Linked DNA regions of Homo sapiens: region 2 is linked to region 1. The links are contacts of gene promoters, found by promoter capture Hi-C in human tissues and cell types (Jung and others, 2019). All regions are on one chromosome and are shown on one strand. The core of a region is centred on a gene start or on the middle of the fragment in contact, and the rest is flanking DNA. Distances in the headings are between cores, read along the strand shown.

The links. Contacts are between HindIII fragments. The study calls those that stand out against the background at their distance.
Region 2: a contact is called between a fragment that was not itself captured here and the fragment with the promoter of CBFA2T3 in region 1, in 1 of the 25 tissues and cell types used here (spleen).

The regions. Positions count from the first base shown.
Region 1 is chr16:88,974,443-88,981,690 of GRCh38, reverse strand. It overlaps CBFA2T3 (CBFA2/RUNX1 partner transcriptional co-repressor 3), which reads left to right and starts at 4,484. Exons shown (of 12, transcript NM_005187.6): 1 at 4,484-5,034. The coding sequence starts at 4,884. It overlaps LOC124903756 (a long non-coding RNA gene), which reads right to left and starts at 628. Exons shown (of 2, transcript XR_007065183.1): 1 at 462-628. RefSeq lists enhancers at 4,063-4,112, 5,953-6,162, 5,815-6,359. The HindIII fragment of the contact is 13,654 bases long and covers 1-7,248 here.
Region 2 is chr16:89,515,286-89,521,602 of GRCh38, reverse strand. The region is part of intron 3 of SPG7 (SPG7 matrix AAA peptidase subunit, paraplegin); the gene reads right to left. Among named protein-coding and RNA genes, the nearest start is that of SPG7, 10 kb to the right of the region's middle. RefSeq lists enhancers at 1,434-1,934, 1,935-2,435. The HindIII fragment of the contact is 6,254 bases long and covers 11-6,264 here.

The DNA of each region.
Region 1 (7,248 bases), core at 3,235-5,734:
CTAACGGGGTGGTAGCTGTATTTTGGTAAAATGGGTTTCCTTCATAATTCTGTGAACTTATTTGCTTACTAGATGCCCAAGGAGTCCACACACCGGGAAGGTGAAGACCCCGATTCCAGTTCCGTGCTCTCATTGGGGTGTCTCCGGCCTGCGCCTCGGCTCGGACTCCCCAGGTAGACCTGCTCTTTCTGGGGGTGGCAGGAGCGCCCAGTAACTGCAGTCTCAGAGCCCTGGAATCCTGCACCACTTTGTACCAGGTTTCCCCAAATCACCCCAGCCCTCCGGCCATGGCACCTTCTCCGTGGTTCTGGGTTTGCTCAGCCGTGCCCTGAGCTGGGGAGTGGCTGAGCATCCAGCTATGAGCCGCTTCACCTGCACTGCCTTGAACACCCGGGGCAGGTTTTTTCCTGCCTCCACCCCCGGCCCCCACTCCCTCTGTGGCTCACCCCAACTGTCCACACCTTATTCAGGACCAGAAAGCCGGGGCAAGGCTCCTCCGTACATGACACTGTTCAGCATCCTCTGGAGCGGCTTCGCGACTTACATTCCTCTCTCCAGGCTTTGTGACTGGGGATGGCACCCTTGTGGGCCTCCTCCCTCCTCTGTAAAGTGGGCTGGCATGAGACTTACATAAAACCATATTACCACTTATTCATTGATCCACCTATCCACCCACCCACCCATCCACCCATCCACCCACCCACCCACCCATCCACCCATCCACCCACCCCTCTACCCATCCATCCACACATTGACCCACCCACCCATCTATCCACCTACCCACCCATTCACCCATGCACCCATCTATTCACCCATCCATCCATCCATCCATTCACCCATCCACCCATCTATCCACCCATCCATCCACCCATCCATCCACCCATCCACCCATTCACCCATCCACCCACCCATCCACCCATCCATCCACCTATCCACCCATCCACCCATGTATCCATCCATCCACTCATTCACCTGTCTATCCACCCATCCATCCCTACCCACCCATTCACTGATCCACTCATCCATCCACCCATCCACGCACCCATTCATCCACCCATCCATCCACACATTCACCCACCCACCGATCCATTCACCTACTCACCCATTCACCCATCTCTCCATCCACCACCCATTCACCCATTTATCCATCCATCCATCCATCCATCCATCCACCCATTCACTCATCTATCCACTCATCCACCCATTCACCCGTCTATCCACCCATCCACACATTCACCCATCTATCCACCCACCCACCCACACACCCATCCACCATTCATTCACCCACACACCCATCCATCCACCTACCCACCCATTCACCCATCTCTCCATCCACCCATCCATCCACACATTCACCCACCCACCTATCCATTCGCCTACTCACCCATTCACCCATCTCTCCATCCATCCACCCATCCACCCATCTATCCATCCACCTACCCATTCACCCATTTATCCATCCATCCTTCCACCTATTCACCCATCTATCCACCCATCCACCCATTCACCCATCTACCCACCCATCCACCCATCTATCCATCCACCACCCATTCACCCATTTATCCATCCATCCATCCATCCACCCATTCACTCATCTATCCACTCATCCACCCATTCACCCGTCTATCCACCCATCCACACATTCACCCATCTATCCACCCACCCACCCACACACCCATCCACCATTCATTCACCCACACACCCATCCATCTACCTACCCACCCATTCACCCATCTCTCCATCCACCCACCCATTTACCCATTTATCCATTCATCCATCCACCCATTCACCCATCTTTCCGCCCATTCACCCATCTATCCATCCACCCACCCATCCACACATCTATCCATCCACCCACCCATCCACCCACTCACTCACTCACCCATCTATCCACCCACTCACCCATCTATCCACCCATCCATCCACCCATTCACTCATCCACCCACCCACCCATCCACCCATCATCTACCCACCCATCCACTCACCCACCCACCCATTCATTCATCAATCTATTCATTCATCTATTCATCCAGCAGTGAAGGGTGTGTGTGTTGGGGGTGGGGGGGTTCCTACATGCTAGAAGAGAAGGCAAACATAAGACACCCTGCCTGAAGGAAGGCCTCCTCACCCACCCCCACATGGCGTCATCTCCCCCACTGCCCCCTCACCCTCCTCCAGTTCTCTGGCCATCCTACAGATTCACCAAAGCCTGCCTTAGGGCCCCTCTGCCCACCCAGGGACAGTTTCCCCAACTGCCCTATGGGCCCCACATGCTGGGCCATGTTGATGGAACGTGTCTCCTATAGTTCCCAGAGAGCAGGACCAGGGGCTGTCTTGGACACCGAAAGAACCCCAGTAGGCCCTAATAGGTCTTTTAGGAAGGAAGGAAAGGCCCCTCCTGCCCCGAGAGGCTGGGTGCTGGCTGCAGACAGCAGAGGTCCCTGGGAGAAGCCGAGGCCCCTCCTGCTGCCCCCACCTCTGCAGCCACTTCCTCCCCAGCCCCTTATCTCCTGGCCGCCCAGCTCTGAAAGCCACAGCCAACGTCTGCTTCCCCACAAGCACCAACTGCCCGGCCTGGGGGAGAGGAGGCCGGTAGTGGGGAGGTGGGGAGTGGTGCCCACACCCCCAGGTGGCCGCCAAAGTTGGGGGGCAGCTCCTGCCCCCAACTTGTGGGCAACTTTCTTCTCTTCTCTTTCCAACCCCACCTCCGTCAGACCCCCTGATTAGACACCAGGCAAGACGGGGCCAGGCGGGGAGCTCAGGGCCTCATTGCGAAAGTGGAAGTGTCCCATCTGTGGGGGGCGCAGGTGCAGGCCTCGAACATCTGCCTCAGGGCTGGGGGCAGGGCTGCCTGTCTCCTACCCCGGGTGGGGGGAGCCACCACCCTCACCCAGGGTGCTGTCCTGCTGCCTCACGGAGTGGGGGCTGTGCCCCCTGAGACCCTCAGTTCCCCGACTCTGAGACTCTCACTGCACACAGCTGGGGAATAGGCACTGACACAGACCAACCCCAGCCACATGCTCACGGTGGCCCCGGCCCATGTGGCGGCTCAGAGCCTCTGCTGTCTCCACTCCCGGAAACGCTGTAGGAGCTGACGCCGTTAGGATCGTGCACCCTGCACAAATGAGGAAACCAGGAGGGTCAGGGCCCCCAGGACCCTCACTGTGAATCCCACCCTGAGCCAGAGCACAGGGAACAGCAGGGGACGTGGGGACCGAATGATGGCACCAGGGGATGGGCCCCGGGCTGGCAGGAATGTCCCCTCCAGCCTCAGTCCTGGGGGCAGAACGGCCGACCACCCAGGGCAGGGGAGGCCCCGGGTGGGCCTGGCGTCTGGGAAGTTCCCCAGCAGGAACAAACACATCCCCACTGTAAGCTGGACACACACGCTGGCATGCAGCTTGTTGTCACCAACTCGAGAAAGACACTCGACTATTGGGACAGGGAGACCCGGGACACCTGGAGACCCTGCGGGGAAGGAGTCGGCTTTTACTCCTGCACGGCTTGAATTATTAACTGCGTGCAAACGTGACCTAAAACTCAAATCAAATCAAATCAAAATAGCACAGATGCCCGTGAGCCGGCCCTGGGTCTGCGGGCTCCACACCTCTGGCCTGTCTGAGGCCGGGAAACCTCCAGCCATGGCATCAGAAAAGCCACCGAACCAGGGCTGCAGGGCCGAAGGGTCACTGTCCCCTCCCAGGAAGCTCCTGCCCTCTGACAGTTGTCAGGGAGCTTTAGAAAGTGGCTTTTTTTCCCAGCATCTGGGATGTGCCTCACTCTCTCAGCCCAACGGCCGCTAGAAAGGGGTCCTAGGACTCTCCCTAGGGTCTAAGTAGTCCCAAGAGTGCTCTGAGGTGGCTTCTGGAATTTCCCAGACTGGAGAAGCCACCTACCCCCGACCCCCGCAAACTCCAGGCTGCTCACCGGAGGCGGCCGCTGGGGCGTGGGGTGAGGGTCTTTCTGAGGCACCCCCGGAGAGTGGGGGAGCCCTGCTGTCTCCACAGAGGGCCAGGAGCCCTGTGCACGAGGCCAAGCAGAGAGAGAGGGTTTCCTTCCCAGCAGGCGGGAGGTACTTTGAGGACAGGTCAGGTGCCCAAGAACCCCGGAGCAGGGGCTGAGGAGAGGCTGGTCAGAGGCCCCGCCTTGCTCAAGGGCACAGTCAGCAGACACAGGAACACGGGCAGGGTGGCCCCTGGAGCGGGGGCAAACTAAAAGGGGTGCTGGGGAAAGCTCGGCTGACTGAGGGCTAGCGGAGAGGGAGGACACCCCCAGATACCCCAGGCTGAAGGAAGGGCCAAGCCCTGGGGGGAAGATGGGTGGGCGGGACAGGCCAAGGGCTCTGGGCCAGGATGGAGCTGCCCTCAGGCCTGCACACCTGCCCTGGGGCCGAGGAAACACATGCCCAGTGGCCACGCTGTAGGGCTCAGGGTGGGTGGGACGTCACCAGAGCTGCCTGGGAGGAGGAAGTTGTTGGAAGGTCAAACCGGAATGGCCCGAGGGAAGGCCGCGCAGGGCAGGGCCCCAGATGGTTCCTGTCAGGGAAGTGGCGGGCGCAGCTGCAGGCCTCCGGCCCCGGCATTATCACGGGGACACAGCTGGCTGCCTCACCCGCAGGCTGCAGGGAGACCTTCCCCAGCCTGCAGCCCCAGGCCCGCCCCGCGTCACATGAGCCCCAGGGCTCCCACCCCCTCCCCAGGGCAGAGGACACCCAGTTGGTGGCCGGGAGGGCCTCGGCTTTCCAGGGACAGAGGCCCAACTCCAGGACGCCCCAGCTGGCCCAGCCCCTCCTCTTTCCCTCAAGGCTGCAGGAGGTCGGGAAAGGCAGTCCTGGTAGAGGCCTGTCCTGGGCTCCAGGTTGGCCCCTGAGGGTGGCCCTCCTCATGCCGGCTTCAAGACTGAGGGACAGGGCAGCCAGTTCAGCCTCGGGATCCACCTGTGGCTCCATGTCCCAGACGCACCCTGTGCTGGAGAGCGGCCTCCTGGCATCTGCCGGCTGCTCCGCACCCCGGGGTCCCAGGAAGGGCGGCCCAGGTAAGAGGCTCGAGGGGAAGGTGGTGGGGTGGGGGCAGAGAGCGGCAGCCGGTGCCGGGGCTGTGACTCCTTAGAGCTTCGCGGGGCCTGCCCAGCTTAGTTGACAGTGCCGGCACGGATGGCCGTGTTGACTCACCTCAGATATCAACAGGGCCACCCCACAGGCAGGTCCTGCACAGCTGGGGCAGGTGGGCTGGTGAGGGTTTGGCAGGTGCCAGCCAGGTGCCCCAGCCCCACCCAGAGGCAGATGCTGGAGGCCGGGCTGCTCAGCCCCGTCTAGGAGGGTGGGCTGTGTTCTCCTGGGGGTGGGAGGGCCGCAGCCGGGAAGTGATGGGGGGGTCCTAGAAAGAGAGCCCTCCTCCTCCTGGGATGCCCTCCGGGTGTGACACCTCACAGCAGGTTGGATGAGGAAACTGAGGCCAGAGGGGAGGGCACTGGCCCAAGACCCCGGTGAGGAGGAAATGGACCCAACCCTGGGCCCCTGTCCGAGGAACGATTCCAGCCAGGGCAGTGGGGGTTTACGGGGAACCTGGGCCTGCCCTTCTGGGGGCTTCGGGCTCTGGGGAGGGGTCCAGTCCAGCAGGACGCCAGCTATTGCTGATACCCCCCACCCGAGCCTGCGAAGTCCCAGGACAAGGATCCCCGGACGCTGGGGGCTGCAGCTGCAGGCTGGTGGCCCCGATTCCCAGTGGCCCTCGTGGCCACACTCCCAGCAGCCGTCGGAACCTTCAGGAGCTCACAGTCTCCCGTCTCGCGGGGCTCTCACTGAGGCCGTCAGGTCCAAGGTCTGACTGCACCCCTGACACTCACACACAGAACCCGGGACCGAGGGGTGTCCCCATCTCTGGAGACCACATTCCCTGAGCAGGTCCTGGCGGCGGCTGCCTGAGGCTGTTCCCACCTGCAGCTGCCCGTGGGGCCCCAGGGCCATCCCCCACAAGGGCCCCAGATGTGAGCAGGAACTTCCCAACCCCGGGTGCCCGGAATGCAAAGGCCGGACCTCACCACAGCCAGTGCTACTGTTCGTTTCTCCCGAATGGGTGACTCAGAGCCACCTTCAAGGCAGCACCAGCCCACTGGCCCTGGCATCTGCCATCCCGTCCTCTCTGGAGCGGCCCTGTCTATCCCCTGGCGCTGAGTGGCCTTGGGCCGGGTGCTTCCTCCCTGGGCCTCAGTTTCCTCATGGTTCAGACCCTTCCGACCTGCTCCCCGCGTGAGAGCAGGTTCTCACCGGCGCGGAGAGAGACGGGCTCTGAGGCGCATGGAGAGCCGCCGCTTTGTTAGGATGGGGGCGTCTACTGTGGAAGGACGGGGGTGTCTACCGTGGAAGGAGGTTAGGGCCAAGAGGTGGCCCCGTGCCTGAGTCATGCGAGGGGCTGCTGGCTAGAGGCATGAAACAGAGGGTCAGGGCGGGCCTCTGACATGGCTGCAGGTGAGGAGCAGAGGGTCAGGGTGGACCTCTGACATGGCTAAAGATGTGGAGCAGAGAGGGTCAGGGTGGACCTCTGACATGGCTGCAGGTCAGGAGCAGAGGGCCAGGGTGGCCTCTAACACAGAGTACCCAGCCACTGTGCCCACCCCCAGGGAGCCCCTGCTTAGGGGCTGCAATGTGAGGAGGGAGCAGGGTCTCACTTGGGTGCGGGGTCCTGCCCCTGGCTTCTAGGGGCTTCTGTCCGTGCAACCACCCGGCCCTATTCCAGGGTACCCATGGGACAGCCTTAGCCACATCAGGCAGCAGAGTTACATGTGAATACCAGCACTTGGGGCTTCTCATCCTGTACCCCAGGGGCCTCCCAAGGCCCCCAGGGGACAGATGTGGGAGCCTTGTGATGCCAGAAAGCCTCGGCATCAAGCCTCGCCTGGCTGGAGGAGCGGGGGCCATGGGGGGCATGGGAACTGCGGGGGGTCCTGGACAGACCTGAGGGCACCTCAGCCCCACTGTGTGGCTGTCAGGCACACAGGCCTCCCAAGAGTTCCTAAAACCTTTGAGGCCTGAAAACAGGCCGATTGGCTTTAAACTCTGGGGAGAACAGTAATATTTCTAAAAGCTGAAGTAGAAGAACCTTCCTGTCTTTAGACCAAAGGCGTACTGAGCAGGGCTGTGTTGCTGCGCGTTTGGTGGCGGGCAGGAGAGACGTCTGTGTGCTGTGCAGGGGGTGGGAGGACCTCAGCCCCTCGTCTCCTCTGACAGCGTCCTGGGGGCTGAGGTGTAAG
Region 2 (6,317 bases), core at 1,888-4,387, 540 kb before region 1:
CCCGGCTAATTTTTTAAATTTGAGTAGAAGATGAGGTCTCACTATGTTGCCAAGGCAGTCTCAAACGACTGAGCTCAGGTGATTCTCCCACCTCAGCCTCCCAAAGTGCTGGGATTATAGGCATGAGCCAAATCCCAAATAATTTCTAATAAAAGTAAAATGACAGCTTGGATTTGGTCTACAATAAACACCTCTTCTGCTTTCGTCACAAACGTGTAGCCCTTCTCCAGTGAGGGTCAGCCAGGCATGTTAATTCACAGGTGTGTGACACAGGCTGGCTCTTAGCCCCGCTGTGTCAGGGAGCAGGATCTGCCCAACAAGACGCTGAGGCCACACAGCCCTCGGGAGAGCCTAGCCCCATCATGACACCTTCTGCTGAAGCTCCTTAGGTTCCAATCATTTCACTGTTCAGTGAGCCCTCTCTAGCCTCCGTGTCTTCCTCGGTGGCAAGAAGGAGGCCAACAGAGCACCCAGGACACAGGATCACAGAGAAGGCTCTTCCAGCCACAAGTGAAGGCACCGCAGGGAAAAATCCATATGCTCTGTGAGCACACGCAGGTGGATGACCTAGAGAGCCAGGCCAAGGAGGGTCCACAAACAGGCCTTGCACACGTTCTGGGGTGGCGCAAACCAGTACAACCCTGTCTGATAACTGCCTGGCAAGATGTATCAAGCGCCATAGACAGTATTTAGTTTCTTTAATTCAAAAATCCTACTTCTGAAACTTTAACCTAAGGAAACGAACCATAAGAAATTCCAGCCGGACGCAATGGCTCACACCTGTCATCCCAGCACTTTGGGAGTCGAGACAGGTGGATCACTTGAGTCCAGGAGTTAGAAACCAGCCTGGGCAACATAGCGAAAACCCATCTCTACAGGGGGAAAAAAAAAACACAACGTAGCTGGGGCTGGGCGCAGTGGCTTACGACTGTCATCCAGGCACTTTGGGAGGCTGAGGTGAGTGGATCACCTGAGGTCAGGAGTTCAACACCAGCCTGGCCAACATGGTGAAACCCTGTCTCTACTAAAAATACAAAAATTAGCTGGGCGTGGTACCACGCGCCTGTAAGCCCAGCTACTAGGGAGGCTAACGCAGGAGAATCGCTTAAACATGGCGGGCGGAGGTTGCAGTGGGCTGAGATCGCGCCACTTCACTCCTGCCTGGGCAACGAAGAGTGAAACTCCATCTCAAAACAAACAAACAAACAAACAAACAAACAAAAGCACTCTAGGTATAAAAGGAACTTCCTCTGCCTGCAAGACCCCCCATCTCCTTCCCATGAAGTCCTTAACTTCTGTTCAACCCAAACGCCCAGCGCGTCCCTTCCACTGCGCTGCCCGATGCACCTCTTCCCGCCACGCCTTCAGTGTTGTGGTCATTTGTGCCTGCGCACCCAGGGCTGCAGGTACCTTCCTCCTGTGTGCTTCCAGGACGGTTATTCAGGATGCTGAGACGAGCCGCCAGCTCACACAGAACTGGGGTGTGACCTCAGCACCTGCTGCCTGTGTTCCTGAGGCTGTCCGCCAAGGCGCTCAGGAAACGCACATGCCTCCTGAGCCTCATATGCACACCTCGTGGACGGCAGCCTGCAGGACCACTGGCAAGTTTTGTTGCCAAAATCCCTCTTCGAGGAAAAAAAGTCAATTGTTGACAATTAGATATTATGATCACATAACTCACTTCAATCAGTCATCTAAAAACAAACGGCTGATACCACTGAGTCTCAAGGAAGCAGCCACAGGGGCCACATCAGGCTCATCCCACTTGGAAACCGCCCCTGAAGACAGCAGCCCCGAGCGCCACAGCTGACCCTGACAGAGGAGAGGCCTCCGGGGCAGGGGCTCCACCTTGACGCATTCACACTTCACAGTGGAAAGGGGCCTTCTCCACAAGAAGCTGTGTGAAAATGTTAGCAACTGCTGCCGGGCGCGGTGGCTCACGCCTGTCATCCCAGCACTTCGGGAGGCTGAGGCGGGTGCATCACCTGAGGTCGGGAGTCTGAGACAAGCCTGACCAACATGCAGAAACCCCATCTTTACTAAAAATACAAAAAATCAGCCAGGTGTGGTGACGCATGCCTGTAATCCCAGCTACTCGGGAAGCTAAGGCAACAGAATGGCTTGAACCCGGGAGGCGGAGGTTGCGGTGAGCTGAGATCGCGCCACTGCACTCCAGGCTGGGCAACAAGAGCGAAATTCCGTCTCAAAAAAAGAAAAAAAAAATGTTAGCAACTGCTTTTTTTCTAGTTTTCTAGTTCTAGTTAGCAACCGTGAAGTAACTGTACCTTCACATGTAGTTGTAAGAAATGGCACAGAGCAGGCTGGGCGCAGTGGCTCACACCTGTAATCCCAGCACTTTGTGGGGACCGAGGCAGGCAGATGATGAGGTCAGGAGTTCGAGACCAGCCTGACCAACATACTGAAACCCCATCTCTACTAAAAACAAACAAAATTAGCTGGGTGTGGTGGCACGCGCCTGTAATCCCAGCTACTCAGGAGGCTGAGGCAGGAGAATCGCTTGAACCCGGGAGGTGGAGGTTGCAGTGAGCAGAGATCGAGCCACTGCACTCCATCCTGGGTGACAGAGCCAGACCCCATCTCAAAAAAAAATAAATAAATAAAAATAAATGACGCAGAGCAATACCTTGTCCCCCTGCTTCCAGGGGTTCCATCTCACAAAACTATGAACAGTATCACAGCCAGGCTCTCCCACCACGACGGTCCACCAAGCTCCCCGGGGTCATCCCATGACACACGCGCAGTGTGTGCCCACCGCAGCTGAGGCAATCCAACCACAGGCTCCCTCCGGCTGTCTCCTTCCCCCATCCTTAACCCCTAGCAACCACGAATCTGTGTTCCATCTCTTTAATTTTTGTCTTTAGAGAATGCTGTATAAAAAAAAAATCATACGGCATGTGATCTTTCAGCTCGGCCTTTTTTCACTCCGTATAATTCCTTCTGGGTTCACCCGCGTTATCAGTGAGCGGGGCCTTTTTTCCACTCCGTGTAATTCCTTCTGGGTTCACCCGCGTTATCAGTGAGCGGAGTCTTTTTTCCACTCTGTGTAATTCCTTCTGGGTTCACCCGCCTTACCAGTGAGCAGGGTCTTTTTTCACTCCGTGTAATTCCTTCCAGGTTCACCCGCGTTATCAGTGAGCGGAGCCTTTTTTCACTCCGTATAATTCCTTCCAGGTTCATTCGTGTTATCAGTGAGTGGTGCCTTTTTTCACTCCGTATAATTCCTTCCAGGTTCACCAGTGTTATCAGTGAGTGGTATTCCAAGCAAATACTTTTCGGGCAACCACTACTTACAATCATTCTGCACGGCTGGCAAAGCTGTTTCTAAGCCACATTCAGTATCGTTCTTTCATTTAAGGAGGTGGCAAAAGAATCTTCATCTGAACAGACGCCATGCAGTTCAGCATCAGACCAGGGAGAAGGCCTGCCTGAGGGCCGGGACTGTGTTGTGCCTGTCTGATCAAGTCAGCAGTCCTGAAAATCCACACAAACCAACTCCCGCCGAAACCACAGCAGAGGGCCCAGGGGAAACCCAGAATAGGTTCTCACAAGAAAGATTATTTGGCTCAGTAAACAATTATCCTCTAACGCAAATTTAACAGACATTATTTTCTCCAAGCAAACTATAGTTCAACCCAAAACAGAATAAACATAAAACAATCACTTGGCCGGGCGTGGTGGCTCACGCCTATAATCCCAGCACTTTGGGAGGCCGAGGTGGGCAGACCACAACGTCAGGAGATCGAGATCATCCTAGCTCACATGGTGAAACTCCGTCTCTACTAAAAACACAAAAAATTAGCCGGGCATGGTTGCGGGCACCTTTAGTCCCAGTTACTCGGGAGGCTGAGGCAGGAGAACTGCTTGAACCCACGAGGTGGAGTTTGCAATGAGCCGAGATCGTGGCATTGCACTCCAACTTCGGCAACAAGAGCGAAGCTCCATCTCAAAAAAAAAAAAAAAAAAAAGACGACGACAATTACTCAGATGCAGGAGAGACACGCATGTCAGCTACACGCAGCCTCATCCATAAGCAGATGCAGGGCCCAGGAGAGCAAAGGGCATGGTGACTGCCTGCCCTTCCTCACGCCAGGGCACCTGCCAATGCAGCAACGACTAGGATTTCACTGGACAAGCACCTACCACATGCCAGGAGTGATAACCAGGAAGCTGCCATGGCTTTGCCTTGCCATGGCAACGGAGGCTGCCATGCCATTCCTTCCAGGAACCATGACAACGGAGGCTGCCATGCCATTCCTTCCAGGAACCATGACAACGGAGGCTGCCATGCCATTCCCTCCAGGAACCATGACAACGGAGGCTGCCATGCCATTCCTTCCAGGAATCAGAGTTATTAGTGGGGCACACGTCCCTGGTTAACCGTAACACAACACACAAGGCTGAATGCAGAATCCGCACAGGCCACACAATTCTTCCCTCTTCTATGACAGGTGACCCTTCAGCAACACAGGAGTGAGCTATGTATGATCACGGACACGTGGATTTTCTTCCACCCCTGCTACCCAAGACAACAAGACCAGCCCCTCGTCCTCCTCCTCAGCCCACTCAAGGTGAAGGCCATGAGGATGAAGCTCTTTATGGTGATCCGCTTCCACTGCATAAATAGGAAATATATTTTCTCTTACGACTTTTTTCTTTTTTCTTTTTTTTTGAGACAAGAGTCTCGCCGTCGCTTTTTTCTTTCTTAATTTTTTTTTTTGAGACAGAGTCTTGCTGTGTCGCCCAGGCTGGAGTGCAGTGGCGCGATCTCGGCTCACTGCAAGCTTCGCCTCTTGGGTTCACGCCATTCTCCTGCCTCAGCCTCCCGACTAGCTGGGGTTACAGGTGCCCACCACCACGCCTAATTTTTTTTTTTTTTTGTATTTTTAGTAGAGACAGGGTTTCACCGTGTTAGCTAAAATGGTCTCGATCTCCTGACCTTGTGATCTGCTCGCCTTGGCCTCCCAAAGTGCTGGGATGACAGGCATGAGCCACCACGCCCGGCCTTTTCTTTCTTAATTTTTTATGTTTGAGACAGAAAGGTCTCACTCTATTATCCAGGCTGAAGTGCAATGGCACAATCTCAGCTCCCTGCAACCTCTGCCTACCAGGTTCAAACGATGCTCACGCCTCAGACTCCGGAGTAGCTGGGATTACAAGCACGTACACCACACCTGGCTAATTTTTTTTTTTTTTGGTATTTTTAGTAGACAAGGGGTTTCACCATGTTAGCCAGGCTGGTCTCGAACTCCTGGCCCCAAGTGATCTAACTTTCTTCTTTTATTAAAAAAACGAACGGCCGGGCGTGGTGGCTCACACCTGTAATCCCAGCACTTTCGGAGACCAAGGCGAGTGGATCACCTGAGGTGAGAAGTTTGAGACTAGCCTGACCAACGTGGCCAAACCAGGTCTCTACCAAAACTACAAAAATTAGCTGGGCTTGGTGTTGCATGCCTGTGATCCCAGCTATTCGTGAGGTTGAGGCAGGAGAATCACTGGAACCCAGGAGGCAGAGGTTCCAGTGATCTGAAATTACGCCATTGCACTCTAGCCTGGGAAACAAGAGTGAAACTCCAGGCTGGGCACGGTGGCTCACACCTGTAATCCCAGCACTTTGGAAGGCCAAGATGGGCAGATCGCCTGACATCGGGAGTTTGAGACCATCCTTGCCAACATGGTGAAACCCTGTCTCTGCTAAAAATACAAAAAATTAGCTGGGCGTGGTGGCGCACGCCTGTAGTCCCAGCTACTCGAGAGGCTGAGGCAGGAGAATCGCCTGAACCCAGGAAGCAGAGGTTGCAGTGAGCCGAGATCGTGCCATTGCACTCTAGCCTGGCGACAGAGCGAGACCCCATCTCAAAAAAAAAAATAATAATAATAATAGTAATAATAATAATAGAAATGAGGGTCTTAAACTCCTGGGCTCAAGTGATCATCCCACCTTGGCCTCCCAAAGTGCTCAGATTACAGGTGTGAGCCACCGCACCTACCCAGCAAATTTTTTTTTATAAAAAGGTCAGCCGGGCGTGGTGGCTCACACCTGTAATCCCAGCACTTTGGGAGGCCGAAGTGGGGAGATCACGAGGTCAGGAGTTCAAGACCAGTCTGGCCAACATGGCAAAACCCTGTATCTACTGAAAATACAAAAATTAGCTGGGCATGGTGGTGCATGCCTGTAATCCCAGCTACTCAGGAGGCTGAGGCAGGAGAATCGCTTGAACTCAGGAGGCAGGGGTTGCACTGAGCCGACATCGCACCACTGGACTCCAGTCTGGGCAACAGAGCGAGACTCCGTTTCA